Linked DNA regions of Homo sapiens: region 1 is linked to region 2. Evidence: promoter capture Hi-C in 16 types of primary human blood cells and fetal thymus (Javierre and others, 2016). All regions are on one chromosome and are shown on one strand. Each heading gives the region's core, a stretch centred on a gene start or on the middle of the fragment in contact. The rest is flanking DNA. Distances are from core to core; before and after follow the strand shown. Region 1 holds the start of REPIN1 (replication initiator 1). Region 2 holds the start of ATP6V0E2-AS1 (ATP6V0E2 antisense RNA 1).

Region 1 (2,888 bases), core at 79-2,578, 490 kb after region 2:
AAACAATCCAGCTAACTAGTACTCTAAGAAATGCAAGTACAAAAGATGAGAAATAACCATTTCAAACTAAATTTTTTTTTTAAAAAAGTCTGTGTTGTCAAGTATATGGAAAATGGGCATTTCTCAGGGAAAACTAATACGTTTTCCTGGAAGATAATTTAGAAAACATTTAAAAAATATATTCCTTTTATACAGCCATAAATAATCATGTTTAAAAGAATATCTAATAAAATGGAAGAAAATTCACAAGATCGTGTTAAGTGAAGAAGGCAGAATACATCTTCGCAAGGCATTATTCCAATTATGCCAGACATGCCATGGATATACGTAGAGAAAACACCGGAGGCAACATACCAAAATATTAAATGTAATTGACTCTACGAGGTAAAACTGAGTTTTATGTTCCCCTATTTCCTATTTATGCAATAGATTTAAAAAGTATTTTTACGACTAATTATACAATTCAAAAATTGCCTGTGTTGAAAAGCATGAAAGTACATGAAATTGTACTACCCTGGAAACCCCAGGAAGTGTTTAGTTTGGAAAGCCAGGGCCACCTGCTAGTGGGTGAGTCATGGGCACAGGCTCGCACCTGCCACCGCAGACGCCACACAGGCTGCTGAGCCTTTCCAAGCGAAATGCCCCACGTGCGCCAACGGCCACCTCGGCCGTCGCCCCACGCTTGGCCCGCAGCCAGAGGAAGCCCAGCAACTTCTGCTCTTTCTTAATTTCTAGAAAAGAGTGAAGAGAGGCCTTTTCAAAGTTCGCAGGATCGGGCCTTTTTGTGCTCCACTTTGGAACAAATCGGAAGCTAGGGCCTTCCAGGTGCGCCACCGCCGTCCCGGGACCGCCGCGGCCGCAAGCGTCCGCACTGCGGCCGGGGTGCGCGGCCTGAGAAAGGCCCGGGCAACGACGCTCCGGGGGCTTGCCGGAGCCCTCTTTGAAGTCTCCCGACGGGCTCCCAGCCTCTCATAAGGCAGCTAAGGCCGAACACCCCGGTGACCATAGGCCAGCCACGCGGTCGCCCGGGGACGCGCGTGCTCCGCAGGGACAAAGGGTCGGGAAACTTGAGCTCCGGCCAGTCCCAGAGAAACCCGGGCTGGTGGTCGCCATGGCAACGGAGTCCGACCCTCCGAGGCCTGCCGCCCTGGCGCGGCAGTGGCTTGAGTGACCCGGCCCGCTCTTGGCGGGGGCGCCCGCGCCCCGGCCCCGGCAGTCCCTCCCCGCCCCCAGGCCGCGGCCGCGGGAGCCGGCGACTGACCCTCGGCAGCTCCTGTAGTCACGTGGCGCTGGGAACCCGGCGGGGGGAGGTTGGGGACGGGCCTGGCAGTTGTGAACTCGAACCTGCCGCTGTCGCCGCGGCGGGGCGGGGAGCGAGAGTGGGCCGCGGAGGCCGGCCTTCGGGCTCCATGGACGGGCGCCGCGTCCCTGCACAGCCCGCCGCAGAGGTACGGCCGGGGCAGGGGCGCGGGGCCACCGCGGGCCCGCGGGGGGCCGCTCCACCTGCGGGGCGCGTGACCGTGAGTGTGCGCGACCGTGTGTGAGTGCGCGGGGGGGGACGCTGCTGGATCTGCGGGGGTGGGGGAGCGCACCTGCGCACAGGCTCCGCGAGCTGCGCCGTGCGTGGGACCCGAAATGGCTCACTCGCAAGAACGGGACCCGTGTGCCCGGGAGCGTGGACGGAGGACACGCATCAGTACAAAAGGGCGGTGTGGGGCTTCTGCCACCCGCGGCCAGCCGCGATGCGGAAGGGGATTCTGACGGAGTCGTGGTCACACCAGCTGGCCCTGCGCAGCCCCATGGGAAATAGGCCTGGAATTCCTGTCGGGAGGAGGCTGGGGGAAGGGGAGCCAGCAGGGATTCCAGAGTTCCTGCCATAGGCCGGCCTTTGGCCATCAGGGAAAGCCCAGACTCTGGCCACAGAATGGAGAATTCGTTCCGTGACCTTACCAGGGAAGAAAGTGACCCCGAAAGACAGCAGTGTGCTTCCTTGTTGAAGGGGCACATTCATTTATTAATCCAATGTCCATTAAGGTCACTCTGCCAGGCAGGATGTGGGGCTTATGGCTGGTGCGTGTGGCTTTGTGGGGGGAGGGGTTGTGGCTGGTGAGGACACAAAGCTGACTGCCCTAGAGGAGCTCAGAGCCTCACTTCTGTTTTCTCTTCCCTCCCCACAGGTAAGGCTGGCCTCTCTGCAGTCAGAGGTCTGAGCTCTGCCATGGGGATAGGGGTGTCTTTATTACTGCAGTTTTCTCTAACACCTGGGGGCTACCGGAGTGTGGGCCGAAGCAGGCGCTGCAGCCGCGGAAGTATCCCCAGGAACATCCCCAAGAGGAGCTGGAAAAAGCCTCATCCCCAGCTCTGCAGTCTCCAGGGTAGAGTCTGGCCTTTGCTGTGCTCCCAAACCACGCCACAACAGGGGTGCACGGGCGTCCCCATCCCGGCGGAAGGAAATGGCCCTTTCTCATATCCTGGGGTCTTCCCTGTGCACAGTCTGACACTGGGAATGAGTGACCTTTGTGTTCCCTGAGAAGAGAGAGTGCGCTCTAGGGAATTTAGAAGGATGTGTCTGGAGCTTGTGAGCAGGCACAGAAGGGCCCTTAGGAGCCTAACTGCTTCCTTCCTCCTTCCGCGGAGGAGGCTCCTGTGCAGGAATCTGGGCTCCCCTGAGCTGTGGAAGAGCTGAACATGGGGCAGCCCCTGGCGAGGTTGGGGCAGGACCGGGCAGGGGACTGAGATTGCAGTCTCATCTTCCCTCCCCTTCTATTGCCCCAGTAATCTCCAGCACCCCGAGGGAGGCAGAGCCGGTGATCAGGCCCCGAGGGCAGCAGGCTGTGGGTGTTCCTTGGATTCAGGGAGAGCCTTCCTTCCTGCAATGTCCTAATTTG
Region 2 (2,879 bases), core at 146-2,645:
GTGTTCTCAACAATGTACACACTCTGGATGAGAAAAATAACCATTGTTTACAATCCAGCTAAAATCTCACCTCCTCCAGGGAGTCTTCCTGGATTTCTCCACCCTCTGAATTCTCATAATGGGCATTTGGCTACTTTGATCACAGGGCTCTTAGAACTGCGCTGTCCAGCATTATGATTTTACCAGAATATATCACTCCTCAACTACTTTAGAAACCCCTCGAAGGCTAGGATGGTATTTTATACCTAACAGTTTGGTGTCATCCCACGCCCACCTCCAACTTACATGAATGTTGGAAGGATGGATAGGGAGGTTTCAACTAGAGAACGGAGAAGGGCGGATGTAACTGGTTCTTGATTTCAGAAAACAGCCAGGAGCACACATGGCTGACGGGGTCAGTGCAAGGACAGGCACATTTCCCTTCTGCATCACGTGGGGACTGCGCCTCCCTATGTCATGAAGCCAGGGAATATGTGTGGCCGGCCGCTTGGGGTAGCACTTGTTGCTAGAGATACCGCCTGGAGGCCACTGATCTGTAAAAGGGATCTCTACAGAAGATAGGGATTTTTGATCGCCAGAGAAGAAGGGATATGTGAGATCCAAACGCCGAAGGAGGAAAGCAGGCTCCGTGGTCTCTTCCAGCCCTGATGGAAGAAACTACCGAGCCTTATTATACTAGGTGCTTTCCACATGCCTATTCATTTAATCCTCCAGCAACCTTGTAAGAAGGGCCATCCCATTTTATATTTAAACAAACCTTAACTACTGACGCAAGGAGTCAAGGATCTAATCCCAAAGCCTCTGCCTGGTTCGCTGCAGATGGATGTCCGCGAGGACGCCAGCCCTCCGCCTCCCGCCGGGTCCCTGAACGCCGGCCCGGCCGGTCCAACCTCATTCCGCTTCCCGCCATCGAAACGCGAAGCCCCCGCCTTCCCCCAAACGTCTCAGCGCCGCTGGGGCCTTTCTGGCTGCGCCGCCTCCGACCCCAGGCCCCGGTCCGCGCCCGCCGCTCGCTAGTCCTGGGAGTGAGGAGAACGCGTGCTGAGGACCCGGCCAGAGGGACAGCGGGGACCGCCCTCCCGCTGCGTCTCTGAAAGCGAGGCCGTTCCTCCCGCGTCCGACCCCCGCGGGGCCGTCAGGTTCGGGGCGGCCCAGGCTGCGGGTCCGCAGGGCGCTTCGGGCCGAGCCGGCGCGGCGCGTGAAGGGCAGGGGACGCCCCGAAAGACCGCTGGGGTGGGACCCCAAGCTCCAGGGGTCTTTGGAAATAAGAATGCGGCGTGACGTTGGCTGTGCGGGCGCGGGGCTGACGCGGACCCTATAACCCATCGCCGAAACCGGGCGGCCGCGCCCCTATTCCTCGGCATTTCTCTCTGTCCGCGGCCCTGCTCAGCCAATCAGCGAGTGGGCTCCTAGGCAGGTCCTGAGTGACAGCGCGGCGGGCTGGATCAGGAGATGCGCGTGCGCGGCCCGGCCCGGCTGATCGCTTCGGGTGCTCGACTCCTGTTGCGCATGCTCAGCGCGCTGCCCGGCTGGGGACCCGCGCACCTGCAGCGCCCGCTGCTCGGCCCTGCATCCTGCCTGGGCATCCTGCGCCCGGCCATGACGGCGCACTCATTCGCCCTCCCGGTCATCATCTTCACCACGTTCTGGGGCCTCGTCGGCATCGCCGGGCCCTGGTTCGTGCCGAAGGGACCCAACCGCGGGTAAGGAAAGCGCGCAGGCCCTGCAGACCTCTCCACCCCGGCCCCCTGGCCCGGCTCGCCCCTCCGCCCCGGGGCGGCGGCTTCCTGCTCTGCAGCGAGCGTCCGCAGGAGGGACGCCAGGACCCCGGACGCCACCTCTGAGGTCTCTCTGCACCTGGGTCTCTGACAGCCGGGAACAGGCAGGAGGTGGGGCGAGAGGGCATATCCAGAAGGTAAAGAGGAGAGTGACATTGGAGATGTCTGTCACCCCTCCTGCAGCCAGTAAAGGGCACAAGTGGGCACTGACGCAGTTTCTCCACTCCTTGCTAGCTGTGTGACCTAGAGCCAATATCAAGTCTCAGTTTCTTCATGGGTAAAATGGAGATAATGTCGACTCCTGCCTTAAAAGGCTGCTGTGAGGATGACCTGCGGTAACGCATTTAAAACACCTACCAGTGCGTGACACTTTGTAGGTATGGGATAAGTTTAGCTGGCGTTATTTTTCGAAGGTCCTCTAGCAGATTGCTGCGCCATTCACCAGTTTCTGCTTCATATTATCTTCAGTTACAAAGCACCCTTCCCTTGACTGCATGTTCCCAGGGGCTGGAGTTTGTCCAGTTCACCATTGTCTACTCAGTGCCCAGCCAGGACTGGCACAACCTGCTTAGTAATGTTGAAAAAGGGATCGCGTGCTCCTGTGTCCAGCACCAGCTTGCAGTGCTTTAGATCAAAGATCAAGGGCCTCGTTTGGATTAGAGTTAGCTTTGCCCAAAGGCCGTTTGGACATGTGAGTGCTGCCTTTGTTCTTAAAGACAGGCAGGGTTTGGGATCCCACAGCTTCACTTTGTAAACCATTTTCGTGTCTTGCGTCTCCTGCTATTCTTGGTGAGTTCTTGCTTCAGTTTGACTGAAATTTCTTTTGCTGCACTTGAAGCATCTGTCTCTGGTCTTCTCTGAGTACACGCAAAGTGGCTAGTCCCTGTTCTCTTTGTAACAACTCACTGGGCCTCAGAACTGGCTCACAGTCTGCCTGCTTCTTGCCCTGTCTTCTAGCCTATTGTTTTCCTTCCCCTTGCTCCATGAATTTTGAATTCTACAGACCACTCCCTGTTGGGTTGCCACAAATGCAGCTCTGTGCAGTGCCTTTCCACAACACGTCTGCATTAAGATGGAGCAATATTGGGTGGTAGAGAAGGG

What was found. The method cuts DNA at HindIII sites, captures the fragments that hold promoters and counts their contacts. A CHiCAGO score of 5 or more calls a contact.
Region 1: the fragment with the promoter of REPIN1 here is called in contact with the fragment with the promoter of ATP6V0E2-AS1 in region 2 in 10 of 17 cell types (fetal thymus, endothelial precursors, megakaryocytes and 7 more); the score reaches 15.2 in fetal thymus.

Annotation. Positions count from the first base shown.
Region 1 is chr7:150,367,494-150,370,381 of GRCh38, forward strand. REPIN1 (replication initiator 1) reads left to right here and starts at 1,329. Exons shown (of 3, transcript NM_001099695.2): 1 at 1,329-1,448; 2 at 2,178-2,375. The coding sequence starts at 2,219. All of the region lies in intron 3 of REPIN1-AS1 (REPIN1 antisense RNA 1), which reads right to left. RefSeq lists enhancers at 803-862, 902-1,706, 1,707-2,512, 2,513-2,888 and silencers at 1,113-1,582, 2,093-2,242. The HindIII fragment of the contact is 10,402 bases long and covers 1-2,888 here.
Region 2 is chr7:149,872,467-149,875,345 of GRCh38, forward strand. ATP6V0E2-AS1 (ATP6V0E2 antisense RNA 1) reads right to left here and starts at 1,396. Exons shown (of 4, transcript NR_027040.1): 1 at 758-1,396. It overlaps ATP6V0E2 (ATPase H+ transporting V0 subunit e2), which reads left to right and starts at 1,503. Exons shown (of 4, transcript NM_145230.4): 1 at 1,503-1,703. The coding sequence starts at 1,600. RefSeq lists silencers at 1,030-1,239, 1,270-1,349, 1,760-1,939 and enhancers at 1,302-2,270, 1,600-1,739. The HindIII fragment of the contact is 7,156 bases long and covers 1-2,879 here.